Regions from separate parts of the Homo sapiens genome. Here all the other regions are linked to region 1. The links are contacts of gene promoters, found by promoter capture Hi-C in blood cells and fetal thymus (Javierre and others, 2016). All regions are on one chromosome and are shown on one strand. The core of a region is centred on a gene start or on the middle of the fragment in contact, and the rest is flanking DNA. Distances in the headings are between cores, read along the strand shown.

Region 1 (3,693 bases), core at 303-2,802:
GGCTGCAGACCAGCCGCTATGGGTCCTGAGCCCCGCGCCCGCCCGACACCGCAGTGAACCGTGGCTGCCCTCGCCACCAGAGAACGCCTCGGGCATTAGCTCCCCCGTTCGGGAGAAAGCGTCTGGCCAGGCATTTTTTCCAGCTGGAGACCAGGCTGGTTCCCCAGCTTGGAGCCTCAGGCCTCGTCCTCCCCGAGAGCGCCTGGTGGACGCGGACCCGGCTGTGTCCCTCTCAGGGATCCGCCTCCCGCCGGGCTGAGCCCGAGCGCCTGGGTTCGTCGGGCGAGAAATCAGAGCCCAGAGCCGACCCGCCCGCTTATGCAAGGCTCCGGCGCCTGAAGTGACACACTTTTCTGTGGATTCCTTCAGGGATCTCCTTCCTCCGCTCTTAATGTCTTCGGACTATTCCCGCGCGCGTTTGGGGAGGCTGCGAGGGCCGCCGCGCTGGAGCCTAAAGGTAAGTCCCTTCCCGTCCTCTTCTCTCTCTCTTCTGACTTAAGAAAACGGGCGAATCCTTGCTACTTTTTTTTTTCTTTCTCCCCTTTGGTTCCCTTTCTCTGGTCTCCCTCTGATCTCTTCCTCCCTCTCCCTTTGCCTCGCACTCGTGATTGTGGACACCGGGACCACTGGACTCGGAGTTCGGCTCAGGGCTGCGGGCTCAGGGATGTGCGGGTTCTCAAAAGAGCAGCGGAGTCCGAGCCGAGTCCGCTGACGGGCTCACGAGCGCTGCGCCTATTGGCTCCCTGGCACGTCGGCGTCCCTCGCTCGCGCGGGCGCGGCCAATAGGGGCGCGGGGCCGGACGCGCGGCCTCGGTGGCGGGGGCGCGGGCCCGGCGCGGCGCGGCGCGGGGAGCGGCGGTAGTGGCCGTGACGTCACGGGAGGGGGTCGGCGCCGCCCGCCAGCAGCCGGATTACAAGCGAACGCGCCCGGCAGCGGCCGGAGTCGCCCGGCATCGCGTCTCCGCCGCTTCCTCCTTCTGTGCCTGCTCCTTCTCGTCGTCCTCCTCTTCCTCCTCCTCCTCGGGTTGCCGCAACCGCTGCGGCCGTGTCTGCCCCGCAACTTTCCAAGAAAGTTCAGAAACTCGGCTACGGGGCTGCCGAGTGGCGCGCGGCTGCCACCTCGGGAGCCGCGGGGGAGTTCCGAGGGCGCGCGGCCGCCCGGGCTTCGCGGTCGCTGCACCTGCCGCGTCCGCCGCCGCCACCGCTGCCGCCCGGTGCCAGGCTGTGGGCAGACCCCGGCAGCGGCGGCGGCGGCGGCTTTGGCGTAGCTTCCCGCCGCCTGCGCCTTCGCCTTCGCCTGCGCCTTCGCCTTCGCCTTCGCCTTCGCCTGGGTCCTCCGCGCCGCCACCGCCGCGCCACGTGCGCAGTCGTTCCTGGAGCGCAAGTTCCGAGTTTTCTCAGAAATTTTTTTAACTCCCCCCGCCCCCCGCATCTTTTTTCTTTCCACCCCTACTTTTTGCATAAAAGAAAAAAAGTTGTGTCGAAAGTATCCACAGATTGCCACTTCCCAATTACCCTTCCTTCTCTCCCCGCCCCACTTTTTTTTTTTTAAGCGGCGGCAACATTGTTTGGTGTTTATTTTGTTTTACGATCGATAGCTTTCTTCGCTGGTTCGGGGCGGCTGCTGAACGGCGGAGTGGCGTGGACCTCATGTAGCAATGACAATGGAAGGGGCCAGCGGGTCGAGTTTTGGAATAGACACGATTTTGTCCAGTGCCAGTTCAGGCAGCCCAGGCATGATGAATGGAGATTTCCGCCCGCTCGGTGAGGCCAGGACCGCGGATTTTAGGAGTCAGGCCACCCCATCTCCCTGTTCGGAGATTGATACCGTAGGGACGGCGCCTTCTTCTCCTATCTCAGTCACCATGGAGCCCCCGGAGCCGCATCTGGTAGCAGACGCGACCCAGCATCATCACCACCTCCACCACAGCCAGCAGCCGCCGCCGCCGGCCGCGGCCCCGACGCAAAGTTTGCAGCCTTTGCCCCAACAGCAGCAGCCGCTGCCGCCACAGCAGCCGCCGCCGCCGCCCCCCCAGCAGCTGGGCTCGGCCGCCTCGGCCCCCAGGACTTCCACGTCTTCTTTTTTAATTAAGGACATCTTGGGCGACAGCAAACCTCTGGCGGCATGTGCACCCTACAGCACCAGCGTATCCTCTCCCCACCACACCCCGAAGCAGGAGAGCAACGCAGTGCACGAGAGCTTCAGGCCAAAGCTCGAGCAGGAGGACAGCAAGACCAAACTCGACAAGCGGGAGGATTCCCAGAGCGACATCAAATGCCACGGTGAGTCCCGCCACCCGGCGCTCTCGGCCGTCTAGCTTGTCCTCCTGGTTCCCAATCTCCCCTTCAGCCTTCAGCAGATCTCTGCTGGGGAGCGATTCCAGGAGCTTCTCGGGCGACTGGGCGACGGTCAAAAGACTGCAGCTGAAGGGAGGCCTGGGCGTGCGATGTGGGGACTCCTCGAAGTTCTGTTTATTGTTCTACCCCACAACCTTCACGGCCATCCAGCTCCTTCCTTTGTTTTATTTAATTTTAATCTACTGGGGGTTGAGGGGCGGCGGAGGGCATCCGACAGGAAATACTTTTCGTTGATAAAAGGGATGGACTTGGGGTTTTTCTAGCCTAGACTTTGGGAATGGGAATGGGGGGAGGTAGGAGAGAGAAACCACTTAGCTAGCGTGGGTGTGATCACAACCTGGTGTTTATTCTTTAGTACAAGTGATTTCACCCCCCCCCCACTTTATTTTCTTAACATCATCACAGGAATTATCGGTTTTAATGGAGGAAAAATTTCTGAGTTCATGAACAGAGCAACTTTAAAAAAATTAGATTGTGGTTAGCCCGTAAAAATTTGTAATAAGTTTCTTAAAAGCACCCTTCTTACCCTATGGCCTCAACTGAGTATCTGTATCCTACAAAGATTTTTGGCCCCTTACAAGTACTTAGGAGGTAGTATTTATAAAAATAAAATCTTATGAAATTGGATTAATCTCTTTTTTGTTAAAAAAAAAATAAGATGACAATGGAAATTGTCCTTCAACTCCCTTTTTCCATTTTCTCATCAGACAATTTCATAAGTAAATGTGGTAGTCTTTGCATGGCAAAAGTTTTAACATACCAGGAGAGCTTTTTCTTCCTTTACAGACACATTGTTTATTATTATTGATCCTTGTTTTTCTGGTAAAGAAATGTACTGACTGGAAGGTAGGATGTTGGCTCCTCATTTTACTATTATAGCATTAGCATAATAGTGTCCAAAACAGATGTACAGTCTGGTCTGGCGATTTTTTGTGCACCAACCTCCCCAGTGGGTCAATTAGAGAGATTATTGTTCTTCCTGCAGGGAAGATCAAGGAGCACTGCACAAACGGGTACAAACAGGGAGGGATTGACATATCGATTTCCCAGCATTTCAGTAAAAAACCAAAGTTGACAAATAGAATCCGGAAATCTCCATGCTGTCACCTGGATGGGCTCAGTGATTTTGAGCTCAACTCGGTGTCTGGGTGACATATTCTTTGTGAAGCTTTAAAAGACCTGATGCAGGTGGCTTCAGAAAGCTTGATTCCAACATTTCCCAAGTGCATCTGAAAAAGTAAAACAAACACCTATAACTTTCAGAAAAGAGAAAAAAGTAAAATGAAAAAGATGCTGCCTCCTCAAAAAAAAAAAAAAAAAAAAAAGAGTAGAGGG
Region 2 (3,845 bases), core at 426-2,925, 210 kb before region 1:
CAAGTGCTGAATGGGTTTGTAAGCCACTAGAAAAGTCATTCTTATGTTGTGGAAAGTGCTATGGGAGCACTTTCTGATGTGATAGAAAAAATAGTATTGTGAAAGCTTCCCAATGTGCATTAAATTATTTGTTCATTCATGAGTGTCACTGTAGTGTCTTTTAAAAATAATATAGTATTGCATGTTTGAAAAATTGCATGTTTTCATAGTGGTTCATTCAGACTGAAAGAGTGTAAGTAGAAAATTTTGATCTTCTTATTAAGATTAAACTCCAAATGAGCAAACTTGCTTCTGCTTAAAGCAAACTCCTTGACAATTCTTCCAGACTGGGCTGAGGAGGGTATGTGAAAAGTATGAGACATGTCTCTGCTGTCAGAGAAATTAGGAAAGGATTGTTGACAACATACATAAAACTATCAAAAATTGAAAACTATGCAAGATAGTATACAACTAAATGGCATATTGGCTTTAAGTGTTGTAGGAGTTCAGGTTGATTATTTTAGTCTAAGCCTCCTTTTGAGGGCAGCTGGGAATTGAGATTCCTTTTTTTTCTGATGCCCTTACTGTTTGTCTCATTGAATTAGAGCTTGTAAAAAACAGAAAAAATAAATAAATAAAAGTAGTTCATGCTGGTATGCTTCTTGTGACTTTTTAAATGCAAGAGAACAACAAAACCAGCAGCCATACAAAATTTTATTCATTCAACAAAAGTTTGAGTTCTTGTACCAAGACTGTTCATCGCTGAGCCAGTAAAGATACTGCACTCCAGCTGCATAAACATAATATAACCCAGTGGGAAAAGATCAAGTATGCCATTACAGAAGGGTTTATATGGTTTCAGCCAGACCCTGAAGTTGAAGGATGCAGTAGAGTTTTAGGAAGACGAGATGAAGTGTAGAATATTTCAGGCAGAGAAGAACATAGTGTGGACACAAAGGGATGAAATTTGGACTTCAAGTGTCAGGAGTGGAACTTGGAGTTCAAGTGTCAGAAGATTTGGTTACAGATGTTTGGTAAAATTGTAGTGCCAGAAAGGTGGGGTTGGTGCTTTGAATGCTTGGTAAAAAAAATTAGGAAGTCATTAAAGGATGTTTTAAAAATAAGGAGGCCGGGCGTGGTGGCTCACACTTGTAATCCCATTACTTTGGGAGGCTGAGGCAGGCACATCACCTGAGGTCAGGAGCGTGAGACCATCATGGTCAACATGGTGAAACCCTGCCTCTACTAAAAAAAAATACAAAGAACTAGCCAGGCGTGGTGGTATGCGCCTGTAATCCCAGCTATTCAGGAGGCTGAGGCAGGAGGATTGCATGAACCCAGAAGCTGGAGGTTGCAGTGAGCCGAGATTGTGCCATTGCATTCCAGCCTGGGCAACAAGAGCAAAACTCCTCAAAAAAAAAAAAAAAAAATCAGCCCAGTGTGGTGGTGCGCGCCTGTAATCTGAGCTACTCAGGAGGCTGAGGCAGGAGAATTGCTTGAACCTGGGAGGTGCAGGTTGCAGTGAGCCAAGATTGCGCCACTGCACTCCAGCCTGGGCGACAGAGTGAGACTCCGTCTCATAAATAAATACAAAAGGAAAATAGGCCAGGTGCCGTGGCTAACACCTGTAATCCCAAGCACTTTGGGAGGCCGAGGCAGGCGGATCACCTGAGGTCAGGAGTTTGAGACCAGCCTGGCCAACATGGTGAAACTCCGTCTCTACTAAAAAATACGAAAAAGTAGCCAGGCGTGGTGGTGGGCGCCTGTAATCCCAGCTACTCAGGAGGCTGAGGCAGGAGAATCGCTTAAACCTGAGAGGTGGAGATTGCAGTGAGCTGAGATCATGCTGTTGCACTCCAGCCTGGGCAACAGAGCAAGACTCCATCTCCAAAGAAGGAAGGAAGGAAGGAAAGAAGGAAGTGAAGGAGGGAGGAAGAGAGGGAGGGCAGAGAGAGAGAGAAGAAAAATAAGGGAATGGTATGGTTAAACTTATATTTTAAAAAGCCTTTCATGAGACAGAGAAAAGATGGGTCTTTATATTTCTTAGCTATAACTTATTTCTATAGTATTGTTCTTCATTAAGAGCATATATGTGTATACATTTATCTGCACAGTAACGTATCATTTATAAGTGATTAGCAAGGTAACGAATTATCTGAGTTGAGTAAATTCTCTAGGTGACTGAAGAATAGTCCTTTAACTGTTAATAACTTGATTTTTCCTAACCATTTTGGTGGTTATTGCTCCAAAATGTTGTTCTTATTTTTGCCTTGAGTAGCTTGGATATAATTTAATCGAGTATTTTGGGTAACCCTTATAGATACTCTACTAATTGTTTTATTATTCCAGCAAGAATTAGGCTATTTCTCCACCATACAAAAAAATGATCGGCTGATTTTTTCACTAATTCAACAAGCACTTTTTTCACCTCCAACTGTGCTAAGTATGCAGAGATACATTGGATCTTACAATACAGTAGAAGCACATATATGCATAACTGTAATACAAGACAAATTGTTAAGTGCCATTGGAGAGGTATGCGTGAAATACTGTGGAATTTCAGAGAAAGAGGAAGACACTTTCAGCTAGACTAGGAACTCCCAAGGCTTTTGGAATTAGCATTTGAATGGACCCTGATGTATAGCTAACTGAAATGGAAATGGGGGTCGGGGTGGGGAAGAGAAATGCCTGAAAGAGGGAGCAAGGTGGAACAATGTGGGAAGTTTATAGGAAATACTAGGAAGTAGGAGGTAAGGGAATTGAGTTGGACTGGTAAAGTGAGTCAGATAGATGACATAGAACGCTAGTCTAAGATGTTGGAATTAACTTTGTAGTGGGGAACTATTTGAATGCAGAATTTGTGTAATGCTTTTGAAATTGCTTTTTAAATAAAGGATTTGGCAGAGAGGAGGAAAAATTGCAGGGTAGATCATTTTAAGAGTCCTGTACCAGGTCAGTGACATTAAGAATGTAAAGGAGGGGTACTAGATGTATGGGTAATATTATGGAAATAAAATAAGCAGGATATGGTAGATTAGAGTTAAGAGATGACTCAAGATTTTAAATCTGAGTGGGAGGAGGATGGTTATACCAGTACAGTTAATCAATCTGCTACCATGCTGTCTGGTAGAAGGGCAGGCTTCATTACTTCTCTGTCATTTACTAGCAACACTTCAACATCCAGCTATCCACTATAACAAAGTATCACCTTAAAAGCAGGAGATCTACAAATTTGGAAAAGAGAGCTTTATTTCTTAGGAAGCTTGAAGCCTGCAGGCTTGGAAGTGTATCCTCAGACAGAGACCAAAAGCAAGCCCTTCAAAGGAGGAAGGGTGAGACAGGAAGTTATGTTGAATGGGTTGGCTAAGTATACATATTCAACAGATTATAGGAGGAGCTATGAATATTCATGAGGGGGTGCACACAAGCTTAGTGTGCACACTCCATGTTACATACATCCCATGTTCACTTTGAGTTGGAGACCTAACATTTAATCATAGTAAAATTAAGGTTTACATGTCAAAAGGTGAAACAGAGTTCATAGGCATCCTATGTGCAGCCTTCATGGACCAGCTAGAACCAGTTGGTGATCTCTTATCAGTAAGGAATGCTGGTCAGTTCAAAACCACAAAAACAGAGTGGAGTCTGGCTTCTGAGTTAGGCAATTGGTTGATATCAGTGGGGAGCAAGTCTTTTGAAAGGGTTGGTTTCTTTTTAACTCTTAGGAAGGAAAGTTTTATGGTGGTTAGTGAGGGAGGGGACCTAACGAGACTTGCTTTACCTCCTGTCCCATCATGGCTGGGAACTCAATTTTTAAGGTTTCTCTGGGGTCACCTTGGCAAAGAGGAGGGTGTCCATTCAGTCTG
Region 3 (3,829 bases), core at 1,014-3,513, 230 kb before region 1:
GTCAAAATATTTGATCAGTTACATATATATCACTCATTTCAAATGCTTAAATGCTTAAATTTGTCTTATTGGAGCCACGTGCATATATGTCTATTACGATGTAAGCTGAGACCATCACTTATTCTAATTACATGAAAGCATAAACAACACAACAGTCATTCTGTGCTAACTATGACTTAGTACTCTCCTTTGGTTGCAGCTGTAATTTATTGCCTTCTTCCAGTTGCAGAATTCTTCATTAGGAAATTAATGTTTGATTAGTGAACATCCTTTTGATTTTCTACTGTTGATTCTTATTGTTACATAATTTTGCCATGTCTTTAAAGTTATGTCTTTGTAGGGCCTCCCTGCCCTCCTTGCCTTCATCCACACAGTTACCTGCTTCCGTTTACCACATGGGAGCTTCTTTAGATGTGTTAGATTATATTTAGTATTTACTATACTTTGCAGTAAGAATGATCTTGAGTTATTAGGTGTTTATGGTCTGGTACCTGACTTTGTAACATCTGCCTTCCTGTTAACAAGTGAGGATGGTACATGGCATCAGGAACAAGCTGTTCAACAGGTTCAGTGTAATTTGTTTGCTTTTTTTTAATGGCAATCTATATATCAAACTCAGTGCCTTTTTTGTTTTGTTTTGTGTTTTGGTATTGCCAAGGAAAAAAAAATCTCTGGCTGTAACATTGAGTTTTCATGATACAGTTAGCTCTGTGGCAGTGTGTTGGTCATTTAATGTCATATTTTCATTGTTCAACAATCAATTTATTGACAGATCATAAGTTAACTAAAGGATTATTTCAGGTAATTGTGAATTTAAAGAATACTTTTAAGGCTCAGTAGTGTAATTCTTCAGTTTTTTGCTCATTATTTCAAATAATGTTAAATGTTAATTATGTAATAACTAAGTACTAAACATTTGTAGTACATATTAGAAGGGACCTTAGAAATCATCTTATTCAATCCTCAACTCCATATTCCTGTCTGTAATGTTCTTGACAAGTAAGCAGTCTAACCTTCTGAACCATTTTATTATTTGGCTTGGTTTTAAAGTCAGTCTCATGCTGGACACCCTTACAAGTGTTCTGTATTTTTTTAGTGTTTCTTCTCAATGTGACATCCAGAATAAGTTATTACCTGGATGATACATTCTGTCTTCTCTTGAAGTGTGCACTAGGTGAGATTTAGGTATATATGTTTGTACATTGTGTATGGTATATATAGGTTTAAATGCCACAATAATTTTAAATATAATATTTCAGTTAATTAAGATCTGTTTTACAGTTAGACTGACACTTGTGAATTGTTTTCTCTTCTTGACCCAATCTCATACATTACTAACTGAAGTTGTCATGTGTTCACAAGGATAATTTAAATGAACATAGGGTTTGTGAAAACCTGACAGATCCTAACTATAATTCAGCTAGTGGGCAGCATTATAATTTATTTATAGCTGTGTAATATAGCAATTAATGAACTAATATACAATGAGGGCAAATTGTACTATATTTTGCATGAAATTATACAACACAACAAAGGTTGGCATTATGTAGTTAAGTACCCACAAAATGTTAACCTACTTGCAATAAATACAATTAATAATGTACATAAAAGAATGAAATTAAGCTAATTTTCTATCAGAAAAGAATTATTCGTGAACAGAAAGTGGACAGCATAGATTTGATGACAGAAAGGTTGTATCTAATCTGAATTACTGAGTGACCTAGGAAGCTTGCTCAGAGGGATTACAGAATAATTATGTTAATATGCAATTATCACCTCATTTCTTCTGTAGTAACCTCAAGATGTAGTGTAGTGAGGGTGTTATAGCAAGTGCTGATAGTTTGCAAAAATACTGATGTTTGAGATTTCTGAGACAATAAGTCTAGCTTGAGGCATATAAGTGATGATCTGTCATCTTGAAGACAGATCTGACCTTTGTACAATTTTTTTAGTGCTCACAGTATATAACTAGAGGCAGTTATAGCTGTAGAACTCATTATGATTTTCTAGAAATTGAAATATATTTTATGTAGATTTAAAGTTCTGTTTGCAGCTTTTTAAAAAGGTGTGTGAATTTTTTAGACTTTTAAAAACCAGTTAAAAGAAAAATTCTATGGTTATATGATTATATGGGGAAGATTTAGTAATGGTGTCTAAACAGTGTTTAAAAATCTTAATTGATATATAAGGAGTCCAAACATCAGTTTATTTATCTTAATTTATTAGCTTCTGTTTTTTAAACTTAATGAATAATGCCCACCTTCAAATACGTTCCTACTTTGTTATAGTAACCTAAACTGGTATTGATGTCTCTGTTATATATACATTTGACTATACAAAGGTAGTTGAAAAACTATTTGAGATGGTGTAAAATTAACTCAAGTCAAATGCTTTCTTGCCTAGATGCCACATAACCCAACATGAATGTAGTAAAATAATTTTTGATGATGTTAAAATTCTGTATCAATTATTCAGTGCAACAGATTTTGATGATCCATGGTTCTGCATTGTATCTCAGCACAACAGCTATGAGTCTTGAGTACTGTTACTAAGAAGAAGTATATTTGGAGCATTGTATAATTAGAATATATTCTGAACATTTTAATTGTTCCTAAAATAAGTACCCACAAAACGTTAATCTACTTGTAGTAAATGCAGTTAATAATGTACATAAAAGAACAAAATTAAGCTAATTTTCTCTCAGTAAAGAATTACTCATGAACAGAAAATGGACAGTATAGATTTGATGACAGGAAGGTTGTATCTAATCAGAATTACCGAGTGACCTAGAAAGCTTCCTAAGTCAACTTTTGTAACATATTTTCAAACTGATGCAGAAGGTAACATCTTTTATTTTTGAGTAGAGATAATTAATAATTTAGGGGTAAGTAAGCCATATTTTATTATGTGGATGTGAAGGAAAACTTTCATTGTTAAAGACTTCATTTTATATTTTAACAATATTTAATCGGATTTTTTTTTGCTAGATGTGTTTTGTAGATAAAATATCTGTTATGCACATATATTTTTTCTATGTTTTTGAACAAAACAGGTTGATATCTTCAGAATGTGACCTTATGAAAAGCTCTTATAAAGCCATTCCGGTAATGAGGATGCAGTCTCCAAGCTGACATGATGTTCTCATAGTTTGTCACCCTGCTGTTCAGGGGGTACCAATGAAGTTGCTTTAAATGGGAAGCGTCTGTTCCATCTCTAAACCTCTAACACCAGAACAGATGGGTGGAACATAGAACATGGAAGGTTTTACCTCTGAGGTGGTAACAGTGAAGCCACTCATTAACACTGAATTTACCACTTCGTTAGCAACATTGCTTCCTGTTGAGAAAAACTAATATAGGCTTTCAAATTGACTTAGCATATATTTGTCCACCTCTGTGATTATAATAAGTGGGAACGGAAAGGAAAGTAACTGTCTTTCAAGCTAGTTTTTTGTCGTTCGTTTCAGATTTATGAGATTGTTGCTATTGAAGCGTTTTATGTTTTCTACCTAATTTAATGAGAAATATCAGGAATGAATGGTAGTGTAGCATTAAGGCTTGCTTTTCTTTCCCTTGACATTTGCACACCCTTTCCTAACACATGTTTATGTGCTGCCCATTTTTAACTTCTGTGTATGTGATGTAGAGACTCCTGCTGGGTGATGCATTAGCACCATTTTGGAGTGATATCATTAAATGTGATCTTATTGGAAGTCTATTTTTATTACCACAGAAGTTTGCCAATCTCAAAACAGAATTCTAAAACCTACGAGGGGTGGAAAAAATGATTGTTGGTATAAAAAACAATGTCAAAGATACTGGTAATAGGT

Evidence for each region. Contacts are between HindIII fragments. The CHiCAGO score rates a contact against its expected background, and 5 or more counts as called.
Region 2: a fragment that was not itself captured here is called in contact with the fragment with the promoter of BARHL2 in region 1 in 1 of 17 cell types (erythroblasts); the score reaches 5.0 in erythroblasts.
Region 3: a fragment that was not itself captured here is called in contact with the fragment with the promoter of BARHL2 in region 1 in 1 of 17 cell types (erythroblasts); the score reaches 5.1 in erythroblasts.

The regions. Positions count from the first base shown.
Region 1 is chr1:90,715,161-90,718,853 of GRCh38, reverse strand. BARHL2 (BarH like homeobox 2) reads left to right here and starts at 1,552. Exons shown (of 3, transcript NM_020063.2): 1 at 1,552-2,283. The coding sequence starts at 1,659. The HindIII fragment of the contact is 6,796 bases long and covers 1-3,528 here.
Region 2 is chr1:90,925,884-90,929,728 of GRCh38, reverse strand. The region is part of intron 4 of ZNF644 (zinc finger protein 644); the gene reads left to right. Among named protein-coding and RNA genes, the nearest start is that of LINC01763, 76 kb to the right of the region's middle. RefSeq lists enhancers at 1,013-1,618, 1,619-2,225, 2,327-2,939. The HindIII fragment of the contact is 3,136 bases long and covers 108-3,243 here.
Region 3 is chr1:90,943,562-90,947,390 of GRCh38, reverse strand. All of the region lies in intron 2 of ZNF644 (zinc finger protein 644), which reads left to right. Among named protein-coding and RNA genes, the nearest start is that of ZNF644, 77 kb to the left of the region's middle. The HindIII fragment of the contact is 1,066 bases long and covers 1,731-2,796 here.